Linked DNA regions of Homo sapiens: all the other regions are linked to region 1. Evidence: promoter capture Hi-C in 16 types of primary human blood cells and fetal thymus (Javierre and others, 2016). All regions are on one chromosome and are shown on one strand. The core of a region is centred on a gene start or on the middle of the fragment in contact, and the rest is flanking DNA. Distances in the headings are between cores, read along the strand shown. Region 1 holds the start of NALCN (sodium leak channel, non-selective). Region 2 overlaps FGF14 (fibroblast growth factor 14). Region 3 overlaps NALCN (sodium leak channel, non-selective).

Region 1 (4,517 bases), core at 561-3,060:
GCAACGGAGATAGGCCTTGTCTCTAAAAATAACAAAGAAAACAAAAGAAGAGAGATACTGAGCAGGTAGAAGGGGTACTATGATATTTTGGATGTACCTGTTTTTTAAAATGATTGTCTACTCCAATACACAGTGAATCCCTATGCATTATAGGATGAGTGTGCTGGATTCCATGACTTCCTTGAAGCCCATGAATTCTCTGAGACTGTCTCCATCATCATTGGGATTGTTTGGCTCATGAGCATGAATTATAGAGACTTAACAGAGGTAGTTCAACCAAGGACAGAGAAAGGTCTGAAATGCCTGTTGGGTGAGGAGTGGCACTGAGATTAGTAAAAAATCACTGCCTTGACCACTTCAAAACATTATAAATAAATGTTTAAATATTTCCTTAATATAATTTACTAACAGATAATTCGAACGAATGTCAAGGAATAACACACTATCATTCAGCTACCATATATATATAGCTATATATTTCAGTTTGTGAAATAAACTAGTATTTAGAACAAGCAATTGAAAGCCGCAAATAAAGATGATGAAACAAGTTGGTAAATACTTTTTCTAAGCAAACTGGTTGTAGATTTAGCATTGTTTAAATTACTGTCAATTTTTTCTTATGAGGAGTGATTTCATCATTTGTTTAAAACCTGGCTTTTGACACAGTTTTTCTGAAGTCTTTAGAAATTTGAAAAATTATCTCGCATGACTCTGTATTTCATGAAATACCAATATTTTAACATTTCCCTGTAAACAATAAAACGTACTAATATGGATTATGAATGTGAACAAATTGTGAATGGACTTTTTAAGAAAGTAGATTAATTAAATATCTGTAACCAGAAAATACATTTTTAAAATGTAGGTTTGTGTAGTTTTACTTCTATACCTTGCCACATAACATTTTGTGATAGACAAATGCTCTTTGTTTAGAATTTCTCTTGTAGAGAAAGCTTCATTCAGTTGTTTCTTTCCCTTTATTTATATGCCTGTGTGCATGATGTCTAAATCACTGGTCAGGAGTTCCCTGGGGATTTTCGTATCTGACTACATGGCAAGATTCCAGACCCAAAGTAAACCTTTCAGAGAGTGGGAATGAGTGGGAGGATGTCGCCCTGGGCATGGTGCTTAGGAGGCCAGATTTCCCTAAACCTGCTCTGCTGGGAGCCCTAGGAAGCCTCAGATGCAGTCTGCTGTCCAGGTATACTCACAGGGTATGGGGTGGGGGACTGTCAATTTCTGAATAGACTTTGTCTCATCCACACGACAACATATTTTAATTTTAAAGGCGAACGTCAACCTATTTAGAAAACTATAAGTGTGACTGATGCATTCATTATTTAATAACTCCGGGGTGAAACTTGAGGTGAACGGTTTCACCCTTTCATACTCAGGAATGGAACTAGTCCTCGGTACCGTGCACAGTCTGACCTCACGCTCGCACGCTGGGCTCCCGGCCTCCTGGCAGTGCACTTAAGTGTACCCCGCGTGTGCCCGGCGGACTCCCGTGCACACCGCCGCCGTGCTGTTGAGTACGAAAGACCCCCGAGAGGAGCTCGCAGATGAGAGCCTAGCTGTTGCTGTGAGACTGACTGCGGGTGGCAGCCGGCAAGAAGGAACTGCCAGTACCGACCCTGGCGCTCCCCACCAACTGCGGCGCAGCCTCCTCTGCGGTGCCCGCCCTTCGGCATCACTGCAGTCCCTGTAGCAAAGCTAACTTTAAAAATTTAAATAAAATAATAATTTTTTAAAGGCCCGAAAACTCCGGCTCCCACCCCTCCCCCAGCCTGCCCGGCGGCGGCGGCGCTCAGTGAGTGACACGGCGAGCGTGAGCCGCGGCCCCAGCCGGGCCGAGCGCGCTGCCTGAGCTGAGCCGCCGTAGGTGAGGGGCCCGCGTCCCCGCCCGCCCTGGGCGCCGCGCCTGGCACTGATCCTGCCGGTCGCCCACTGTCGCCGCCGCCGCCGCCCGCGGGCACCATGACAGCTCTGAGCGCTGGGGTTACAGGTTGGTCACCGCCGCCGGTGCCCGGGAGGCTGCGGCGCGGCCGGCTCCGTGCCCTGCGCCCGAGGCCCGCGATGCGCGCTCGTTAGTTCCTTGGCCGGTCCGGGCCAGGACGGCTCAGGGGCGCTGGGGCTGCGAGAGGGGCTGCTAGAGGGGCTGCGGGCGGGGGCCCCGCGCGGGGGAGGGGTGGGGAGGGGCGCCTCCACCCGAGAGCGGGGCGGTGGGGTCCTTGCCGGCCTGGCCGGGGCGCGGGAGCCGCGATGCGCCCTCCCTATTCCTGCGCGTGGGTGTCGGGGGCGCCTGCCGCGGGATGCCCCTGGGCTGGCTTGGGAAGCCCAGGGCCGGCGACACCTCGGGCCTGCCCCGCCTGGGCATCTAGCAGGTGTTGGGGGGCAGGTGGCTGAGGACGAGGCCACTGGGCATCACTACAGCGCTGCACCTGCCCCCTCGGCACCAGGGCCGCTGCCTGGGTAAACCTCTGGGCCAACGCGCGGGTGGGGAGGTGGGGGTGGGCAGCCTGGCTCCAGCAGGTCTCCGCGGGGGCTCCGCGGCCTTGCCCCACCCCCATGCTCCTGTGGATTGCTCCTTGCTAAATGTCCCTTATGATATTCATTGGCCTTGTTAAGCAGCCGTCATTAGGGTGGCTACACCGAACGCAAAACAGTGTCCTGCCAAGCAACACCATTTTGTCACTGAATCTTTAAGACACCAGCAAGGATGGCCTGGCTGGGATCCCTCTGGGGGCCCAGATCGCAGTCATTTTGCTGACTTAATGTTCCTCTTTCAGGATGGTGTGAGAATGCTGAACTCAGACCCTTAGTGCTTGAAATACCTTAGAATAAATCTTTCAGTTTCAGGTACAATTTTTCAGACACTGTATTATTAAGGATGTGTGAATACACGCTCACTTTCAGGCCTCAGAAGGTTTTACTCTTAATCTGGTGTTCGTGTGGTCATCAGCTAGGCCCGACTGCCCTGGTGGTGAAATGTGGGTTGAGGACCAGTGACCTTCGTGTTAGTAGTTGGTGGATAACACCTCTAATAGGGGATCAAAAATTAACAGGTGGCGATTTTGAAATATATATGTATGTATATATATATATATATGTGTGTGATTTGTATGTTCATAACTACAACTGTGATTTGATATGGCCTGGGAGAGGAGCGGTTTCACTATGGTAGTTACCCCTGAGGCAGATGCATCTCAGGACTGGCTTTTTAAATTCAAAGATAAGGTTTCCACAGTTCTAAATAAAAATCATGGCTTCCCAAACATCTGCAACGAGAAACATTTACTCCCTAACTGGTTGGCTGTCATTCTGCGTGCTTTTCTAGAGTCGATTTTTCGTTCTTCTGTAGTATACTTTGACCTAGCCACTGCTAAAACCAGACAGTGTGAAGACAAAATCCAGCTTTGGAGAAAAACTTAAAAAGTGAAAAGGTTCAGTTGGATCCTCTTCTGTGTTCATAGAAGACATAATCTGTTTGCAGAATAAATGTGCCGTCACTGATAAGGACTATGCTAAAATCTCTACAGAACTCTAGGAGAAAGCATGTCTTATAAAATAGTGGTTGTACACTTATAACTTTGGATAGGACTTGCAAGATATTCAAAGGAGAAATGTACTTAAAAAATGTACTTAAAAAAAGTCTACTCAAAATAGTGTCATTTAGTTGCAATTTAGTGAACTGAAGATTTGAGTAGCATTTTCTTCTTCTTGGGTATGGCATTTCTTTGAAATGGTTTCCAGGTGATTTTATCATTCCGGCATGCTTTGTGTGTGCATGTATGTGTATACACAAATGTACACATTTGTTTTATCATTTATCGATGATGTTCAGATAATTTCAGAATTTCCATAGCTGTATAAATTTATCCCAGGTCAGAGTCACATGTGGATTTCAAGTTTGTGAATGAAAATTCACATCTACACCTCTATATCCTAAGATAAGCTAAGCACTGGGCCAGAAGCTGGGTGGTGAGTGAGAAAAAGAGATAAACTGAGAGCCTAAGAATCCTTCAGGAAAGACAAATATGTAAGCAGGTGGATATACAGTGAGATGTCTTATTTTCTAGTTTTGCTGTGGAAACTATGATAGTGAGCTTAAACATATTAAGAATGGTCCCCAAGGCCACACACGGTGGCTCATGCCTATAATCCCAGCACTTTGGGAGGCCAAGGCAGGCCTATTGCTTGAACCCAAGAGTCCAGACCAGCCTGGGCAACATGGTGAAACCCCGTCTCTACAAAAAAAAAAAAAATTCACCAAGTGTAGTGGTGTACACCTGTAGCCCCAGTTACTTGGGAGGCTGAGGTGGAAGGATCGCGTGAGCCCAGAGATGTCAAGGCTGCAGCAGGCTATGATGGCACCACTGTACTCTAGAATGGGCGACTGGGCACAGAGTGAGACTCTGTTTAAAAATAAAAAAAGAATGCCCCTGTCCCAAAATGTTATCAACATTTTAGAGCTTCACTCATGTTATACAATTCTCGCCTGTCTCAAGGACCAGCAC
Region 2 (4,517 bases), core at 975-3,474, 490 kb before region 1:
ATTTTGTCTCACACATTTCCATCAGTATTATTTACCACTATCCTTACTAGAGCCCAAAGGTCCACAAAAAACTGCCACTCTTCATGGTGTGGTCGGTGCTGGTAAAGCCCTGGAGGTAGACACACTGGGCCTTGTGCTCCCACAAACTGGCTGGAAAACTTGGGCAGGTCTGTTAACACGCAGAGACCTCTATGCAATGAACCCATTGAACAAGACAATTTGATAGATGCCTCTCAGCTTTCAGTTCTTCTTTTGCACGCTGTGTAGAGTCCCTCATGAATTAGATCTTAGAACATTGAGACAGTAGTGTATTCCTTTGCCAGAGCAATTATATGTTACATTAGAAGGCCACCTACATTGTGGTTTTAATTTGTAGGATGGATACTTAAGGTATCCATGACTTCAACACTATGCAATCTATGCCTGTAACAAAATTGCACCTGTACTCCGTACACTCATACAAACAAGCAAACAAACACAAAAGGCCCTCTGGAGAACAGGACTGTCCTCTAGATGCTGACAGTCTATGTTCAGTGCCTGTCTCCCTGTCTCTGCCTTACCCCCTTTCTTTAGGGTTGGCTTAGACTCCATGCTTCCTGTTAGCTGCTCATTAAATGCAGCCTGAAAATAGTTGGTTAATCATCTTTGTATATTCTATAGATTCTGTATATTTGTGGCACACAGCCCTCCCTCCTTCCCTATAGTCACCCTGCTCTATATTTAGGCATATAAAAGCTACAATTCTCCTGTATTCACAGATTTGAATATAGAGACAGGAAAAAAAAAGCCTACCCAAGTCTCCACTAAAAGTCTGTTTAATGCCTCCCAGTATTTATAGAACTCGATTCTTCCAGACACTTTTATTTGTTTTATCTTAACAAGTCTCATTATTTTCTTCTAGGGTTCGAATCTGTACAGAATTATTTTTAAAAATTACAGCTTGTGTACATAACAGCAGTCACACTAGGTGCAAAGTTAAAACCCATTTAAAGAGAATAAAGCTTCAATGAGGAAATATGGAAATAATGACAAGCCTAGGAAAAGAGGTCTAACTAACATGAATGACCACACACACACACACACACACACCACAATTAGAGTCTCCACAACTCTGATCTGTAACTTAAATGAATGTCAAATTGCCTCACAGGAATTTCAGATCTTCAGTCTGAAGTTCTGGTAGATAATATTGAACATATTCCTCAGCAACAGCATGCATGCTTCTAAATAGCCACTAGAATTCATTGGAAAAGAGCAATATACAAACAAACAAAAAACCCCAGAAAACTGGCAAGCTGATCTAGATGGCAACATTGGATGAACTAGAAAACTGAGACCACTGGATACTAACCAGTTTGAGATAACAGTATCAGCTGGCTTTCTTTGGAAGAGAGAGAGAAGCACTAAATAAGTGAGGTTCTCAATTTTAATAAGTTGCATTATTCAAACATAGAACTAAAGCTATTAGATTTTTATTAAAAGTGCCTCCTTTGAAAGAAGGCTAGACTAATGTGTTTCTGATTAGCAGTCAGCCAGTGAAATTTCAGATTCTCAAAACCATGACAGGATTTTGAGCAGGAAAGACATCCCTTGATAAAACTCTCAGTAAATAGTAATTTTGCAAGTGAAGAAAATAATTATAAGTCAAGAGAATTGCTTTATGGCTTCAGGAAGTTAGTTATTCTGCACTTACTGGCGCTTGCATTTAAGGTGATTTCATTTAGATTGTATTACACACAGATGGTTTGATTAAACATATGAGTTAATAGTGGCTTGGTATCAATATTGGCTGCATCACTATTGGCTGCAAGCATCTTGTTTCATGAGGAAAAATGGGGTGGGCTGTAAACTGCATATATTGGCATGGTATTTAAAGTTCCAATTAAGAAACTATATAACACACACAAATATTGGGTATTTGTCTCTTGGGTTTGTTGTTAAGAAACGTATGAGCCTCTTTCATTTAAATACCTCTGGACACTGTAAAGAACCTTAGATAGACACAAGAAAAGCCAAGAAGCTTAAAAAAAGAAAGAGAAAGAGCATAAGGACAGAAAATAATAATATAATAAAAAAAAGGGAGCGATAAACCTCTAAAATGTAGGTGCCAGAATTCTTGGGATGGGGGACCTTGCCTACTCTTGTATATATTCTCATCTCAGAGTGGCTCTAAGTATATGGTCCTCTTTAAGCACTTTTTGTTTTGAATAATCTAAGAATGTTGCTAAATTGATAAAACTGAGATATTCCTATGGTTTCAAGTAAAAATAAAGCAACCAATATCTTAGCTCATCAAACTTCATCATTATCTGCATTGAACTTCACAAAAACTTTGATGTGGTGATGGTATCACAAGTATATGAATATGTCCAAACTCATCAAAATGAATTGCATTTTTGTATGTTAATTATGTCTCAGTAAAGCTTAAAAAACCCTTTAAAGTAGATAATATTCTCTTTATTTTTCAAACGAAAGAATGGAAACTGACAGATGTTAAGTAATTTTTCCTGGGTCATATAATCTATGGTAGTAGTAGTACTTTTCTATTTCTTCTGCACAAACTCCTCGCGTATCTGTTTGTTTGATTAGTTGGGTTTTTTGGGTTGTTTATTTGTTTGTTTTTTGAGACAGAGTCTTGCTCTGTCCCCCAGGCTGGAGTGCAGTGGTGCGATCTCGGCTCACTGCAACCTCCACTTCTGGGGTTCAAGTAATTCTCCCACCTCAGCCTCCTGTGCAGCTGGGGTTACAGGTGCACACCATAACCTCTAGCTGATTTTTGTATTTTTAGTACAGACAGAGTTTCACCATGTTGTCCAGGCTGGTCTTGAACTCCTGACCTCAGGTGACCCACCCGCCCCGGCCTCCCAAAGTACTGGGATTGCAGGCATGAGCCACCGCATCCCATCTGAATTCCCCATTTTGATATGACTCCCTCTTCACTTGGGGTCTCTTTGATAACAAATAAGAAAAATGGACAGAGGGCTAGTTGCAAGAAATCAGATTTGGAAGTCACTACTTGGGAAGTGGGAGGGAGACATCAAGAATTATGGCTTTAGTTCATCTTCTCCCATCCCTTTCTCGCAAATGTTGCTATTTCAATAATAGGAATTCCACCATATTTTTTTTTTCAGAAAGACTTTCTTTATATTTTCTTGTTTCATAAAATTTGAAACACCATAAAATCCAGGAGACAACCTAACAGAATAAATGTTCTTCCCAACCTGTGGGAAAAATTATAATCCTCTTTCTGTCCATTCCTAGCTTTTATTTCTCCTCTAAAAGGCATTTCTTTTATTTTGATGAGAAAATCCTTTCAGTATTTCTCAAGCAAGACTAAAGTTGAAGATACACAAAATTCCTAGAGTAGAGCACTTGGGCAGATTTATTAAATAACCTATATATTGAAGATGATATGGAGGTCATTTAATTCTATTTCATAAATATAGCAGTTTTTACATTCAAAATGCTCTTTCACTTTCAAAATAAATATTATTGAGATATAACATGCACATTAAAAGAAGTCCACAAATCATACACAACTTAATTAATTTTTACAGAGTGAATAAATACACTTGTGTGAAGACCATGCGGATCAAGAATAGAGCACTACCCGGCCCCCAAGAAACGCTCCTCATGTGCTTTTCCAATCAATGAAAACTAAAAGCAGCCACTCTCTTGACTTCTAACACAATATATTAGTCTTGCCTACTTGAAAAAACTATATATCAATGATGTTATGCAGCATGTACTTTATTGTGTCTGGCTTCTTTTACCTAATATTGTATTTGCAGGTTCATTCATGTTATCTCTGCTAGTAGTTCATAAAATCTGTAGTGAAGTCCCCCTTTTTTTGAGATTGACGACTTGTACCTTTTCTCTTTTATCTCATGCAGTTTCGTTTGGGTGTATTAAATTTTATTTAGTCTTTTTCAAAGAAGTGACTTTTGGCTTAGCTGATTTTTCCTATTGTAATTTTTTTGTATTAAAATTTCTTCTTAATTTTATTATTTGTTTTTAATTCCTTTAGGTTAAATTTGCGTTCTTTTAACTTTGTGCAAGTATAAATTGTAAGCTTGTTGATTTTAAGCCATTGAAGAATTTAAACATTCATGGAAAATGGTAAATTTACCTGTAGTCATGGCTTTAGCTACACTAAAAAGTAGCTCTCTGTTATATTTTAATTTTCACTTAGTAAAATATTTTCTTATTCTGTGATTTCTTTCACTTAGGATTATTTAGAAGTGCTTGTTTAATTTCAAAATATTTAACAATTGTCTGGTTATCTTTTTATAACAAAAAATTACTAAATTTCTAGACTAAATCTACCATAATCAGAGAACAAATAAAATAGCAAATTGAAAACAAAATGTATGTTTTATTTTGTAGCCAGGTGCAATATTCTCTGTATGACAATTACATTAAGTCTACTGATTTTGTAGTTCAAATTTTTATTTTTTAATTTACTTTCTTTTCTCCATTTTTATCAGTTACTGAAGCAAACTGCATTAAATATCTCC
Region 3 (4,517 bases), core at 678-3,177, 270 kb after region 1:
ACTCCGAGCATGGCTGAGAATCATGAGAAACAAGAGAAAGGCAAGGAAGGACTCTCGCCTGGAGCCTTCAGAGAGAGCATGGCCCTGCTGGCGCCTTGGTTTTTGACTTCTAGCCTCCAGAATGCTGAGAGAGTAAATTTCTATTGTGTTAAGCTAATGATCTAGTGGTAATGTGTGACAGGAGTCCTAGGAAACTAATGTATTGTGGATTCAATTGACCCGTAAGAAATTGCAGATGTTCAACTGCTTTGAGCCACACAAACAGCAATATTATAGGATTCATCCTACCATGTTATGAGCTTGTAAGAGGAAAACTTTGTCAGAGAAAGCTTCTGTGAGGAATTTCTAGTGGAACTGAAATCTAGAAAACAAGTAGAATTTGATGGAGTTCAAGAGAAAAAGAGGAAGAAAGGGGAACCCAGCAGAGGGCCAGCAGAGGGCCGGCAGAGGTGGGGGAGGCACAGAGGTTCTGAGGCAGAGGGTGCAGATGTTTCCAAGCAACTGAAGGATGTGACTGGAACCCGGTGTGGGGATAGAGCTAGCTGAGGCTGGACAGGCAGGGAGGGGCCAAAAAAAGGCCTCTGAGCCTAGATTGAAGATTGAGATTTTGACCAGGCATGGCAGCTCGCACCTGTAGTCCCGGCTACTCAGGAGGCTGAGGCAAGAGGATCCCTTGAGCCCAGGAGTTTGAGGCCAGCCTGGGCAACATTGCAAGATCCCATATCTTTAAAAAAGAAAAGTTTATATTTTTGTTTTTGTTTGTTAAAACAAAAGTTTTTTTGTTTGTTTGTTAAAAGCAGTGGGTAGCCAGGTGTGGTGGTGCATGCTTATAATTCCAGCGACTCAGGAAACTGAGGCTTGAACCAGAAGGCAGAGGTTGCGGTGAGCCAAGATCGCACCACTGCACTCCAGCCTGGGAGACAGAGCAAGACTCCATCTCAAAAAAAAAAAAAAAAAAGAGAGAGAGAGGAAGAAAAAGGCAGTGGAATGCCATTGAAAAGTTTTAAGACAGAGCGTGAGAAATGGCAATAACCGCAGAATGAAGAGCAGATTAGAAAGAGCTGAAGCAGATGGAGAAAGCACTGCAGGAAATGCAGGAACCCAGTGGTGCATTGGCCAGGGAGGCACTGGTGGGGATGCAGGCAGTGGGCAGGCCTAGAGGCTTTTAGGAAAGAACTCTGTGTTCTCATTTCAATGATATGTCCCAATTAATATACCATTTGCCCTTGTGTCTGTTTGAAGACATTGAATTCTCATAAAATATGCATACCAGTCCTGATACATCTAGAGCCCCCAAGTCAACTCTTCTGACCACGTGTGTCTATTCTGCTGCCCGTGAAGTCTCGTGGAGTAGAAGTAGTGCCTTCATTTTTTTTCTTATTTCTCTCTTTGCTCTATACCTTGTGTTTCCGAGCACTCTGTTCCTATATCTGCCAGAGTGGCCATTCTATTTTATTATCATTGTCTCTTTATAGAACTATCTACCCAGTTATACTGTGGGCTCCGTGAGGGCGAGTGCAGTGACTTATTTCTTTTTATATCCCCTGAGCTTAGCACAGAACCTGACCTGTAAGATTTGATTTATAAGTGACAGTATCAATGTATAAATAAATGAGTCAGCAAATGCATGAATTAACAATACTTTATTTCTGCTCTGTCTTATCACCTTTGGCCTGATATACCTGCCTTACACTCTGATCTGATCTAATAGATTAACTGCTTTTTCTACTTCTGCTCTATTTACCACTGACAAGTATTTTTCTACTAGTTGTATCAACTTTTAGAAAACAAGACTCTTCCTGGTAAATCTCTTTACTCGTGTGTGGAATCATTTTTCTAACTGTGTACCTCTCACAGAGATGCTACTACTTTTTGTTTTGTGTCTTTGGGAGCTAATTCCTTACCATTGTCATCATCATAACCATGGAACTGTTGAGAACGTGCCATTTTGCACACATTACTGCGTTGAGCACTCCAGTTAGGAAGGGAGGAAGGCAACGAACAGCAGTGACTCCTTCTCCAAATAAGATTACCATCTAAGACAGAAAAACCAAAGGCTACCCACAAAATCAAATCAGACTTACAAATGGCTAAGGTAAATGTTTATGTTACACAAAACAAAAACATAAGAGCGATTTCTGCAGCCTAATAAGAAAACCAGAAATCAGGATGTATAATCTCATCATGAGCTCACAACCAATAGGATAGTTGAGTCATCCATCATATTGAAATGGGAATGTTTCCCCAAAAAGAAGCCCTCCTGTTCTCCTTAGCCAATTTGTATTTCCACATATAGGAGGGATGCATTGCCATCTCTCTTCCTGTTTTAAAAGCTCTCTTGGCCTCTAATTCTTATCTTTCCATAATTCCTAAAACAAATTATAGAGTAAAACCATACCCAACAAGGAGGTAAATGAGTGGATGATTTTTGAAACCCACCCCCCAAATCCCTCCAAAAAGGCAGCCTGAATTACATGTACTCTTTGAAAGGCATCAGTGTTAAAAGATGCAGTTTGGGAAGCCGGGACAGAAGACAGGGCAGACGTGGGGAAGGGTGTTCCACTCTGCAGAAGGTCCTGGAGAAGGGGAGAGGTAAACAGAAGTAAAGAGGGACTCCAAGAGACGTCGGCACTGGGAGAGAAAAAGAGAGCATAGGAAAGTATAGCATGAATTCTGGAAGCCACAGTCCACCTTTGTAGTATCTTAGTTCAGCCTTGTTCCAGTTTATGATGTTAAACCTGAGCTTCCCTGAAACTCAATTTGTAGAAATATAAATATACACTCTTAAATAAATCCATTTGATTGTCATTCCTCACAAAGATATCATATGGCATTTAAGTTCGTCGTGTCCAAGCATGTTTGCAGCCAAATGGAAAACTCGCTGCATGGACCAAATGTGGTATTTGTGTTTTGAGCTTTTCTGTTTTAATCTGCTAGGCGACATAACCAATTTTCCTGCCATTGTCTCTCTTTACAAATGCTACTACTTAGTATGATTCTGTAGTTAATTTTTTTTAAATTTTTCATGGTTTTTAAAAATTTTTAATTCTAGCGTTAGGCATGTGTAAACAAATTTTATTGTTTAAATATGCAAGTAATAGTAAACCATTAAAAATGTCTGAGATGAAAAGAGACTTGTCTTTGGGAATAAAATGACATAAAGTTTTCCTTGAATTTTTTTCTGGTTTAGTTTTTTTGTTGTTAAGTTTTGTTTTTGTTTTTTCTGTTAACTCAAAAGTTTTAGCTCATAGAGCAATTTATGGCGGGCAAGAGAGGTATACTTGGTAGGCCTTTGCTGCCATCTACTGGCATTTCATGTAATTACTTATTGCTTCCATTCTAAAACTAATTTTGTGTAACGTATATAATAGTATTATAGGTTCCCCCTTTTTTTCTTCTTTCCAATTTTTCTTTAGTTAAAGCAAAGTGAAGCAAATGCGGACACCAAAGAAAAGCTCCCTTTACGCCTGCGAATCTTTGAAAAATTTCCAAACAGACCTCAAATGGTGAAAATCTCAAAGCTTCCTTCAGATTTTACAGTTCCTAAAATCAGGTACCAAAATACTTCTTTAATTGCATATTTCACATATATTGTAAAAGATTCATCATCTTAAATCTGATTTAACCCTTCTTTTAAGTATATGTGGGTTGGGTTTCTTTCTATTTTATTGTCATCTTTCTACTACCTCTACCTCTATTTAAAATAAATAAATAAATAAACAACTTTGACTCTTTTAAGCAATGTATTCACAGAAGAGTCACTTTATAACTGCAGTAGCCTAAGCAAGAAGGCTGCTTCCCATCGCTTCTCTCTGGGATGACTCCTCGGGAATGGGACATCCCAGGAAACTGGAGAAGCTGCTCAGTGTTGCAGGGATGGCAGGTAGACATCAATCTCAGACCCCAACCGTATGAGACTAAAATTGCCTCTGTGGCCCTTTTATTTTCAAGCAAACAGGGAAACCACAGCTGGCCCAGTTTGTGTACTACTACAGTGTTTATGGAGCCTACCATGTCAGGTTACCATATATAATTTGCCTTCCACTTTTTAAAAGAAGAACCGTGGCGTTTTTCCACTCATACTGATTTGATTTTCTACCACGTTTGCCCTCCAGTTAAGCAAATGCATAAAAGATGCTTTAAACACCTATTTTTAATAATAAAAGGAAATTCTTCTAGTTATAGCTCAAGAAATTACAAACAGAATTACAGTAATATGTTACTAGCTTTAAAAATAATTCTGTGGGGGGTTATAAAAGTATGAGACTATATATGGTGCCATAATATTTAAAATTCGGGTAGAAATATATTTGCATTTCTAATTTTAAAAAACAAAATTAATTGAATTTGGTAATTTGAAGAGACGTTACTTGAATTTTCGTTATGCTTTGAAGATCAGATGAACGCACTTGCTTTTGAGTCTTAAAATGTAAAATTCTCTCTTAGTCATTCTTATGATAAATGGACATTTAGAGAGAGCAACTAATTCTTCCAAGTCTTAGAGGGGGAAAAAAAGT

The links. Contacts are between HindIII fragments. The CHiCAGO score rates a contact against its expected background, and 5 or more counts as called.
Region 2: a fragment that was not itself captured here is called in contact with the fragment with the promoter of NALCN in region 1 in 1 of 17 cell types (erythroblasts); the score reaches 5.6 in erythroblasts.
Region 3: a contact is called between a fragment that was not itself captured here and the fragment with the promoter of NALCN in region 1, in 1 of 17 cell types (endothelial precursors). The highest score is 7.3, in endothelial precursors.

Annotation. Positions count from the first base shown.
Region 1 is chr13:101,413,801-101,418,317 of GRCh38, reverse strand. NALCN (sodium leak channel, non-selective) reads left to right here and starts at 1,810. Exons shown (of 44, transcript NM_052867.4): 1 at 1,810-2,005. RefSeq lists enhancers at 1,908-2,458, 2,459-3,009. The HindIII fragment of the contact is 9,792 bases long and covers 956-4,517 here.
Region 2 is chr13:101,899,811-101,904,327 of GRCh38, reverse strand. The region is part of intron 1 of FGF14 (fibroblast growth factor 14); the gene reads left to right. Among named protein-coding and RNA genes, the nearest start is that of FGF14, 15 kb to the left of the region's middle. The HindIII fragment of the contact is 403 bases long and covers 2,023-2,425 here.
Region 3 is chr13:101,143,796-101,148,312 of GRCh38, reverse strand. It overlaps NALCN (sodium leak channel, non-selective), which reads left to right. Exons shown (of 44, transcript NM_052867.4): 16 at 3,417-3,553. Among named protein-coding and RNA genes, the nearest start is that of LINC00411, 200 kb to the right of the region's middle. The HindIII fragment of the contact is 3,192 bases long and covers 332-3,523 here.